Linked DNA regions of Homo sapiens: regions 1 and 3 are each linked to region 2. The links are contacts of gene promoters, found by promoter capture Hi-C in blood cells and fetal thymus (Javierre and others, 2016). All regions are on one chromosome and are shown on one strand. Each heading gives the region's core, a stretch centred on a gene start or on the middle of the fragment in contact. The rest is flanking DNA. Distances are from core to core; before and after follow the strand shown.

Region 1 (3,353 bases), core at 1-2,500, 5.3 Mb before region 2:
TCTATCACCGGCAGGTCCTCAGTTAGGTACACGCCTGTCTTGCTTGGGTGTCAACGACAGGAAACTTAGCTATCGCTGGATGTCTGCTTCCGCCACTCCACAGCAGGTGGTATCCAGAGTGTGTAAGCAAGGTCAGGGGTGCGAAATTTGGAGAAGAAAACTCAGAGAAAAATGCAGACTGCTTTTTTTGGAAGGGGTGTTTTCAGTTGCAATTTCCATACTGAGGAGCTAGAAATTGGCTGGTAAGGTCTAGACATTAACTTAACTAAACGTGCATTCCTCCTCTTGAATTTGGACTTTATAAGGAATTTGGATTGTATAACCACACGATGGAAGCTGCGAGAGGCTTCTGAACAAGGTACTGACGGCGACCAGCTGTGATGACTAAAAAGACGATTCTGGTGGTGGTGGATACGGTGGCTGGAGATAAGAAAAACCTCGGTTCAAACGAGATCTGAATTTACCCACTAACTACGACCACGAGGAGTTTATTCCTTTATCTTTCCGTTTTCTCTCTCTCCCGAGAAGTGTCAAAAACAGGATTTGGAGGTGGCAGGATAATGGCCAAAATGGGTAGACAAGGTGGCGAACGATTCAACCAGGCTCTGGGCTTGGCGCATGGTGGGCGGTGGCGCCCACACCTGGGCCTGGGAACCCGCCGCTCGGGCATCACTGGCTGCCGCGGCGACCGGCGAGGACACATGACCGAGGAGCGAAAGGTCAGAAGACAAGGGGACTGTTACAGGAGCAGGGGAGCCGCCACTGGCTGCTAAGGCCGTGCAACTGGCGCCGAAGCGCACGATCTCCGCCCGCCCCGCAGCGCGTCGGGAACTGTAGTCCCTCCCTCTCCTGCTCCCTGGCCCAGGACGGGCTCCGGGACAGCGCCTATCCCTCTAGCTGTAAATCACGCACTTTCCTGTCCTGGACGCCGGGTCCTTCCACTTCTCAGGCGTCTGGAGCTTACGTCACGGGCGGGTCACCGCCCACATAGCGGAGGCCTTTAGGTGTCTATGGAAAGCCTGTCGTACAGCAAGGTGGCAATAAAGGATCGACCCTTAACAGTGGTAGGAATGCACCTTCGATCCTTCTACTCCTATTGGCTGCTCCTCTGTGGGCGTCTCCCCCGCCGCATAGCACAGCTCCTCTCCCGGTGTTGCTCAGGCAGCGCCTTAGGCAGCCCCGCGCCCAGGGGAGGGGCGGGGCGAGCCAGGGCGGGGCGGGGCGAGCCAGGGCGGGGCGGGGCCCTGACTGGACTGCGTCGCGCTCGGGGGCCGCGCCGGGTAGCGTTTCTTTTTAGTGCCTGAGGCAGCTCTGGCTCGGAGAGCCTTTTGCTAGCCCCACGGGGACCTCTGTGCACGGATGGACCCGCCCGGACCTGGCGGGAAGCGGCCTGGCAGGCGGCGGCCCCGGCGGCATCAGCAGAGACAGGACGGGGCCGACGCCGCGGGCCCCTGAGGCGTGCGTGCCCACCGGGCCCGGCGGCGGCACCATGATGCCGGGCGAGACCCATTCGGCGGCGCCCGGGACGGCGGCGGACCTGTCGCGATGTCAGGGCTGCGCCTCTCTGCAGCAGGTGCAGCACCTCCCGGGGCCCCGGGCGCGGGGGGGGACTCGGCTCGGCCGGCCGGGAGCGCAGGGATGTGGGGTCCGGCCGCGCGGGCTGTGCCTCAGTGCGCTGCTCTCCCTTCCCAACCGTAGCTCTTGCTCGCTCGTCTCTCTGCTCTCTTTTTCCTACATGAGTTTTGGGGACGGCTTTCTTTGCTTTATTTAAGCTTGAAACCCAGAGTTCATTGACTGGAATGCGCTGGTGTAACGGTGGGGGTGGAGTAAGCGAGGTTTGGAGGGCCCCCCACCTTCCCTACCCGGCCTCGGAGCTCCCTAGGGCAGACTCCGTAGGTCAGTGAGGGACAGGTGAAACGCCGAGGGCAGTTATCTCCCTGAGGATAACGCTTTGGTCTTCTGGCCCATCCTGAGTATTTGTTGTTTGGAGGCAGAATCTTACGTGACATGTGGGTTGTCTGAGTCTTAGACTCGAAGAGTCTAGGGAGGCGTTTCAGCTTATAGCAGATGTGCCATCCCGAGGCTAATTTTTTAAAAAGCAAGCCAAGTAATTGGTCAAGTAGCTTGTCAGTTGTTTGATAAAAGTAGTTTATGAAAGGCATGCAGAGACTGGAGGTTTCTAACAGCGGCGTGGGCTCTTCTTTAGAGTGACATAAGGGAGAATTGCTAGAGTATGGCTCCAGATCTTATGGGGTGGTACTTGGGCAATAGTGCCCCTCATTTCCCACGACTCTCCTAGCTGCCTGATGTCGGGGGTCTCTTTTAACTTCCTACTATCGCGGTTTCAGTGATAAAACGGAACTCACCAGCACCTCATTACCTACTCTGCCTAGTGTTCTAGGAACTACAGACATTGTGGTGAACAAAATAGGATCTCTCATAAGTAAGATGCATATGTGTGAATAAGGCCTCAGAAGATTTTAGGTGTTAGAAAATAAAGGAGGATGTTGGAATATTGGTCTTGTCTCTTAGCTAGAGTAGTCAGGTAGGGAATTTTTGAGTCAGTAACTTTCAGATATTTGAATAATGGGAAGGATCGGGCTGTCAGAAGAGATGTGGGAAGAGCTTCCTGGATAGAGGGATTAACAGGTGGAAAGGTTCCTTTGGTGAGAAGGAGCAGGGTGTCTTTGATGAGCAGAACATGGTATGGTTGGCATGAGCATAGTGCACACGGAAGATGGTTGATGAGACCAGACGGGAGTGCAGGCTAGGTAGGCCATGCCGAGAAACTTGGTTTGCATTTTAAGTGCAATATCTGTGAACTGATTGCAAACATTTTAAGTGTTGAAGGAAGGGGAGGAAGGAAATGTGCTGCTTTTGTGAGTAGAAGGAGAACTAACAGATCATTGCCTTCACTGAGCTGCATTGTGTAGGTATCTTATAACGCCCCCCCGCCCCCGCCACCACCACCCCAGGAACGTGATTGGAGTTCTCCCGAATCTTTAATACATTGTATTTATTATTCGAGCCAATTCACTCAACAAACATTTATTGATCACCTGCCGTATTTTAGACACTGCAATTATGGCATTAGGGGAGAAAAAGACAAAAATTCTTGATCTCTTGGAGCTTCCGTTCTAGGAGGGTGGCAGGATAAATGAAACAAATGAGTTATGTTAGAGGGTAATGAAAACGTTGTTGATGAATTGAACAGAGATGGGGAGGGAATGAATGGGTGAGGACTAGGCCAGTGGCTGTTGGAATTTAAGTAGGGAGTCCTGGAACGTTTATATTGGAGCAAAGGTGAGAGAATAATAAGCTCTGTAGAAATCTTGGAAGAAAAGTCTCCCATA
Region 2 (3,292 bases), core at 98-2,597:
TGGGATTACAGGCGCCCGCCACCATGCCCAGCTAATTTTTCTACTTTTAGTAGAGATGGGGTTTCACCATGTTATCCAGGCTAGTCTTGAACTCCTGACCTCAAGTGATCCACCCTCCTTGGCCTCCCAAACTGCTGGGGTTACAGGCATGAGCCACCGCGCCTGGCCAGGAATCTTTATTGTCAAGAAAATGGCGCAAATGTGCCACCAAAAGAAGCCATGTTTCTCAAAGACTTCTGTTCCTACAAGACTGAGTTTATGACACTAAGGCGTGCTATTAAGACCTAAAAGAACCTCACGCATCCATACATTGAAGTGACTTGGCTTCTGAGACCCAAGGCCTTTGATCTTCTCACCAGTGTCCCTCCATATGGGCCGACTGCCACTGGAAAGGAGAGTAGAAACGGAAACAGACCCGTCTGGACAGAATCCAAAGTGCAAACAGGAACTGTGCCCAGAGAGAGGAGGAGGTGGCAGAAGCATGAAGGCTGCTTAGATCCCTATGTTCTAAGAAAGACCGCTCTTTCCTGGCTTTAACTTCCTTGGCTCAGAAGTTTAGGATTTGCTCAAAATCAGAAAAAGCAACTTTGGGGGAAAAAAAAAATCTGGATGTGGAAGAAACTGGCGGTGAAAGTCATATTGAGTGATTAATGATAAAAATTATTTCCGCTCCTTGGTTCTTGAGTCGGTATGAAACGCTGGCAGCCTCTAATTAATCATCACCATGATATTAACACCACTGACTTTTCATTGCTTCTGCTACTTTCTTTCTAGACATCTGTATCCTCTAAGTAAATATTATCCGCCAAAACTTTGTTATAAGTTGTGCAACTGGGTTCGCCCAAGGCACCGGAGCCTGCGCGCAATCGCACAGGTACGCGGCCGCCCGCGGTCCTCAGGAAGAAACGCTTCGCCGCCGCCGGCAAGCGGGGCCGAAGCTCCGGCGGGCTCCTCCCGGGCCTGGGCGCCCGACCTCTCCGCGGCCCGCGCCCCTCGGGCGGGCATCAAGGCCCGGAACCCGTCTCAGCGCTCGCCGGGGCCCTCCCCGCGGAGCCCCCGCCCGGCGCCCCCGGGTTCGAGCCCGCCCCCGGCACCCGCGCGTGGAGAGAGAGGAAAAGAGTCAGTACCGGCGGGCGGGTGTCCAGCTTTAGTCTCTAGTTTCCCTTCGGGAGGCGAAGACATGACGCGGCGGGGCTTCCGCGGGGCCGAGGCGGCGGCGCGGTTCTCGGGCCGGGCGGGCGTGCGCGAGTGAGCTCAGGTGTGAGCGCCGGGGAGCGAGCGGGCGGGAGAACGACGCGCGCGCGTGGGGCGCCGGGGCCGCGCGAGCCGGGTGAGTGCCACTGCCGTTAAGGGGGCGCGGCCGCCGCGCGCCGACGTGGCGCAGCCGAGCCCACCGACGGCATGCGCACTGACGTCACCGCGGCCCGCCCGCCCTGCTGGGCCGCGAGCCAAGCATACGGTGCGTGCGCAGCCGGCCGCGCCACGTCGGATGCTGTGGCCGGGGGCGGGGGCGGGGGCGGGGGCGGGGGCGGAGGAGGGAGGGGAGAGAAGGGGTGAAGAAGTGAGAGGGAGAAGGAAGGAGAGGGAGGCGGGGTCCCCGACTGGCTGCGGGGACTGGAGTTGCGGAAAGTTAAGTAGGGCCCAGCTGAGGATGGCTCCTGCAGCGAACGCGCTCAGCCGGGCTCCTGGCTACGCGGCGACGGCTGGGTGACTGCGCCCCACAGTGCGGGCCAGGGCCGGGGCGTCCCGGCAGGGAGGCGACCGTCCCCTGAGGCCCTCAGCCCCTGCCGCGGCAGCGCCTAATGAAGCGCGGAAAGGAGAGCCCAGATGGCAGCGACGGGGGCCGAGAGAGCAGGAATTTGTTAAAAGACGATGCGAGGGGAGAGCCTGCTTTCCGAGTGAGGGCCAGCGCTGGGGAGCAGAGACGGTGGCTTCTGTCCCTGCCCTCCTCGTTATGAACCAAAAATAAAATTCTAAGCCCTGCAGCCAACGGATGGACCCTCCCCTCCGCCTGTGGCCTTCTAAGTTATCTTGAAAAACTAGTTCAGGCCTTGATGGGAAGCGGAAGTCAAACATGGCCTCACAAACATCCGCACGGAGACCCTAAGACTAATAGAGGACTCTGATAAGAAACATTTGCAGTGTATTCCCGGCTTCATCTGCATGATAACACCTTGGTCTCCACAACTCCTTCATGCAACCCGGACATTCCCTTCTACTGAGTCCAGGTCTTTAGATGATAACTCTCAACCAGTTGCCAATCAGAAAACCTTTAAATGTACCTATGACCCGGACGCCTCCACTTCACATTTTACCTCCTAAAGAGCCAACCTACATCTTACGTATTGATTGATGTCTCATGTCTCCCTCAAATGTATAAAACCAAGATGTTTCCTGGCCACCCTGGGCACATGTCATCAGAACCTCCTGAGGTTGTGTCAATGCACGTCCTTAACCTTGGCAAAATAAACTTCCTAAATTGAGACCACTCTCAGAAACTTTTGGTTTTCACCATCATCTTCCTGTTGCCGTGGCTGACCCCTGGCTCTCGTGCCTTGGATCGTGTTCTTCCCGCCTGCCCCAGTGTTTTGCAACTGCTGTTAACTTCCGCAATGCCTTGCTGGATTCGCATTCAGACAGGCCTAATCTCTTTAGCGAAGGAAACACCACCCCTCGCTTGGCTGTACTTTTCCCTTTGACAACAAAACTGTTCAGGGAGGCTGAGCTCCTCATCTCTTGTCACTCCCTCCAGTCCAGTTTGTCTGGTTTTCATCAAGTTCTGCTGCACTGCCCTCAACCATGGGAGGTCCTTTTGTGGAAGTCACTTATAACCTATGTGCTGCCAGATCCAATGGTCATTTTCTACTTTCATTCTATTTGAGCTCTTAGCAGCACTTGATGCAGCTGGCCGTCCCCCTCCTCCTTTGCTCCGGAGGTGCCACATCACTGCCTTACCCTCCAGTTCTCTGGCCACCCTGGCTGCTCACTCTGTCAGCTTGGCAGTTCGCCCTCTTCTAGATTTATAAACATTTGAGTATCGCAAGGCTCAGCATTGGCCTTCTTCTCTATCTAGACTTCCCATAGATAGTCACATGCAGCCTGTGGACGACTATCATGCAGATGCTTACAGGTGCCAAATCTGCAACCTCATTTCTCTATTTCTGCTCCTCCCCTGAACTCCAGACTCACCACCACCACCACCTGCAGACGCTTATGGGTGCCACATCTGCAACTTAATTTCTCTCTTTCTGCCCCTCCACTGAACTCCAAACTCACCACCGCCACCTTGGCT
Region 3 (3,563 bases), core at 9-2,508, 5.9 Mb after region 2:
GTCTATTTTGTGCAATTTATTTATTTCTCAACTTTAAGGTTCAGAAATCTCTGTCCTGTAACAAGGTATCTGTTACCGGAGTCTGATTATTCTGCACTGTGTAGGTCATGTTTGTTATGAGGACACTTAGCAAACAAAGAAGGTTTTTCTCCGCCCTCAATAGCGTGGTAACGGATGACAGGACACCACTTTCAACGAAGGAGACAGACATTTCCCTGGCCTTTCTGAAGAGCGCTTTTTGGAGAGACAAACCTGTTGCTCAGGGGCTGAGCATTCCCGTGTGTTCTCCCTGTACTTCACCTAAAAATATGCCTGTTTTCCACACTGTGCACACCCGGGGGTGGGTGCTGGGCATACTCCACCTGCTTGTTTGCCTCCCGTTTTCTCATCAGGGAGTAAACACAGTAAACCTAACGCTCCAGGGGAAGGAAAAAACAAATCATTCAGGGCCCATCTCAGGTGACTGATGAATGCGGCACCGTTTTGAACGGGTACCTAATCTGGTCCAGATATGCCTGCTGGGGCTGCAAGAACCAAGACACGTTCAAGCACGTTTGCTCCGGCAAGCTTGGGCGAGCAGGTCAAGACCTCAGAGTTTTAGAAAGCAGGGGCGAAGTTTTCAAGCACGATGGGAACACCTGTAGGTGCAGGTGCCTGAGGGTCGGCCGACCACCTCGCATCTGAGGCTGGATCCGCACACGGAGAACGACAACTGCTCACAGGGACGTGCGTCCGGAGGAAAGTTGCGGTGAGTGTCTACCTGTTCGAGACAGGTGGCCGAGAAAGTGGGGCAGGGCTGACAATTCTTCCTCCGCAGTGTCCCGCGGGCTCCCCCTGCACTGGGTCCCCGGGGCCCCGGGCGCCCCAAGGTCACCTGCCCTCCTCAGCGCCCCCACCTTGCCCAAGCTCTCACCAGAACAGCAGGTTGGCAGCGACGAAGCCGAGCAGGCTCCGCAGCGGCCTCTTCCAGCTCAGCAGCTCGTCGGCGCGGCAGCCCAGCCACAGCACCGGCTCCCCGAGCAGCCAGGTTACCGCGGCCGCCGCCCGGCCCGCGGCCTCCTCCACCTGCAACCCCGCGCCCTCCGCCGCCCCAGCTTCCTGCGCTTCCTCCTCCTGCTGCTGCCGCTCTGCGGGGGATGCCTGGGGCGGTGGCGGCGACGGCGGCGCCTGCTCCTCGGCGGCAGGAGCCGGGCATCCCTCCTCGGCGTGCTCCGGAGGCGCCGGGCTCGCCATCTTCAGCTGTGCTTCCAGACAGGGACGGGGCCGGGCGCGCGCGCGGGCGCGCCTGGGTGTGGGTGCCGCCGAGGGCGGGGCGGCGGTGGCGGCAGGTCCCGGAGCGGGGCGCGCACCGCGGGGCACAGGCGGCTGGGGGCCTTGTGACGCCACAGGCCACGGAGGGGGAGCCGCCCGGGAAAGTGGGTGCGGCCGAGTTCGCGCAGGGGCGGGGCCGGGCGCCGGGAGCTGGGCGGTGTCCCCGGGGGGCTCTGGGTTCCTGGAGGGCCTCTCCGGGACTCGAGGAAAACGACCTTTTCCCTTGCAGCGGCGGGAGAGGGCGAAGTGGAGGACTGCTGCTCGGTTCCGTATCCAAAAGAGACCCAAGGCTCCAGGCAAAATAGATTGGACATTTTCACTTTCTCAAGCCAGGGCCACCGGTCGCCCAACCAGCAGCCACTGAGGGTGGTATCGGGGCGCCCCTTCCCCTGGCAGCGTATTTCAGCCCCCAGAGACATCCCCCACCTCGGCCATCCCCAGCGCCTTTGCAGGGACAGCAGCACAACCATAGCAGAGGTCCTGGGCATCCTGGAAATAACGTGCTGGTATAAATGTTGGATTGAGAAAGGAAGAAAAAACATTTGGGGTCAATTTGGGGCCCTCTCGTTTGACACGGGAGGAAACACAAGGCCGCAGCGTTGGGGGAAGCTGCTTCCTTTCTCTCTCTTCTTTCTCTCTGTCTCAGGTGCTTCCTTTCTCTTCTCTGTCTCTCTCTCTCTCTCTGCCTCTCCCTCTCTCTCCCCCGTCTCTCCCCCTATCTTCCCCTCTCTCCTCCTATCTCCCCCTCTCTCCCCCTCCTTGTGGCTAGGTGATCTGGCTCAGAAGTGCACGTTGGCCCGCGCGTGCGGGGAGCTGAGAAGCAAGAGATTGGAACTTTGCACGTGTCAAGCAAGGTTTGGCCTGCTTTGAAGACAGTAATTTCAGAGCCACTCCGGTCTCTGCGTCACAAGCGGGCATCAGGGCAGTGGTGGGGCGGCAGGGGATCCTGAGACCTCCCATGCCCTCTCTTTGGCCCCGGTGCTTCTGGGTGAGTGTGGGGAGAGAGGAAAATAGTTGTTTATGCTTTTCACCATTTGCATTTTTAAATTTTTGTCTTCTTTAATCTTCCTGGTCTTACTTTTACTCTAGAATGACAGGTCCTTCCCCCCCATACTAAGGGTTCTGTCTGCGGATGCATCAGGGCATCTCATATCCCTTTACTGGCAACCAGCCTGCCTGCACAGGATGGAAGGGAGGGCAATTAAATTCCCTGCGTCAAGGGAGTCTCTAGGGGAATGTTCTGTAACGCTCCTCTGGGTGGCCATTGTAAACCTCTGTGTATACACACGTGGAATCCATTGATCTGTACATTCACTGCAGGTGTCTGCACTTTACTGCTTGTATGTTGTACTTCAAAGGAGTTATATTCCCAGAGCCCAGGCAAAGGCTTACTGAGCACCTACCGAGTACACAAAGCATTGCTAAGCTCTGTGGATGCAGCTTCCACCCACAGGAAGCTCCCAGTCTGATGAGGGCCCAGTTACAATTGTGATATCTGCCACAGCGAAGAAGCCTTCGCTAAGTGCTAAGAGATTCCTTACTTAAACTGTGCATCCAAAATTAGGGGAGGAGTGGAGGGATCAGGTTTCAAGAGCGTTTTGTAATAAATGGCCTCTGCCCTAAATTGTAGGGCCCCCATTAGTGTGGGGATTGGGGACAGGGGCAATAACTGCTGTTGGGAATTCAACAGGAGAGGAGGCATGGGGTTGCAGGTGGAGACGCACAGTTCCTTAAGTAACTCACCAAAGGGAATAGTGGACATTGAATGGTCTCTAGTAACAGGAGGCTTGGTTTTTAACTAAAGGTGATACAGAACATCTGGCATTTCCGACTCCCCTTCTTAGGAGTATCCTGACAACCCGATGGAAAGTGGCCTGGGTGTCAAGGAAAAAGCAACGTGGAAACAATTCAGGTTTCTTCCATATAAGAGAGACAATCTTTTCCCAGGTGTGGGTCCTCCCTCTTGGCAGTAGCGGAGAAGTTTTTGAAAGATAAATGATGCTTTTATTGTGTCATTTGGCCTTTGTTTGGCGCTTGATACAGCCCAGGGTTTGCTATTCTAAAATCTGTCACTAGACAGATGTGTGCTGCAGCCAGTGTGGAGAACATGGGGCAGGAGAGAGGAAGAACCAGGTGTCCCCGTTCCCCAGACCAGTGCTGATGTGCTACCAGAAATGGGTTTGCAAGATTAATCACCTTCCTCCTGCTTCCCTTGAATTCTAATTATTGTTGTCAGGATCTGTTGAAGTAGT

Evidence for each region. The method cuts DNA at HindIII sites, captures the fragments that hold promoters and counts their contacts. A CHiCAGO score of 5 or more calls a contact.
Region 1: the fragment with the promoter of ICE1 here is called in contact with the fragment with the promoter of DAP in region 2 in 8 of 17 cell types (naive CD8 T cells, total CD8 T cells, fetal thymus and 5 more); the score reaches 18.3 in naive CD8 T cells.
Region 3: the fragment with the promoter of RETREG1 here is called in contact with the fragment with the promoter of DAP in region 2 in 1 of 17 cell types (non-activated CD4 T cells); the score reaches 6.1 in non-activated CD4 T cells.

What each region holds. Positions count from the first base shown.
Region 1 is chr5:5,421,427-5,424,779 of GRCh38, forward strand. ICE1 (interactor of little elongation complex ELL subunit 1) reads left to right here and starts at 1,251. Exons shown (of 19, transcript NM_015325.3): 1 at 1,251-1,573. The coding sequence starts at 1,490. LOC101929200 (a long non-coding RNA gene) reads right to left here and starts at 703. Exons shown (of 6, transcript XR_001742583.3): 1 at 1-703. RefSeq lists enhancers at 1-497, 498-1,008, 874-1,123 and silencers at 1,154-1,483, 1,544-1,683. The HindIII fragment of the contact is 2,607 bases long and covers 1-1,770 here.
Region 2 is chr5:10,759,887-10,763,178 of GRCh38, forward strand. It overlaps DAP (death associated protein), which reads right to left and starts at 1,348. Exons shown (of 4, transcript NM_004394.3): 1 at 1,128-1,348. The coding sequence starts at 1,182. It overlaps DAP-DT (DAP divergent transcript), which reads left to right and starts at 1,150. Exons shown (of 3, transcript NR_187555.1): 1 at 1,150-1,330. RefSeq lists silencers at 904-1,333, 1,414-1,883 and an enhancer at 1,406-2,251. The HindIII fragment of the contact is 9,246 bases long and covers 1-3,292 here.
Region 3 is chr5:16,615,739-16,619,301 of GRCh38, forward strand. It overlaps RETREG1 (reticulophagy regulator 1), which reads right to left and starts at 1,259. Exons shown (of 9, transcript NM_001034850.3): 1 at 914-1,259. The coding sequence starts at 1,233. RETREG1-AS1 (RETREG1 antisense RNA 1) reads left to right here and starts at 188. Exons shown (of 4, transcript NR_109946.1): 1 at 188-748. RefSeq lists a silencer at 1,013-1,502. The HindIII fragment of the contact is 3,701 bases long and covers 566-3,563 here.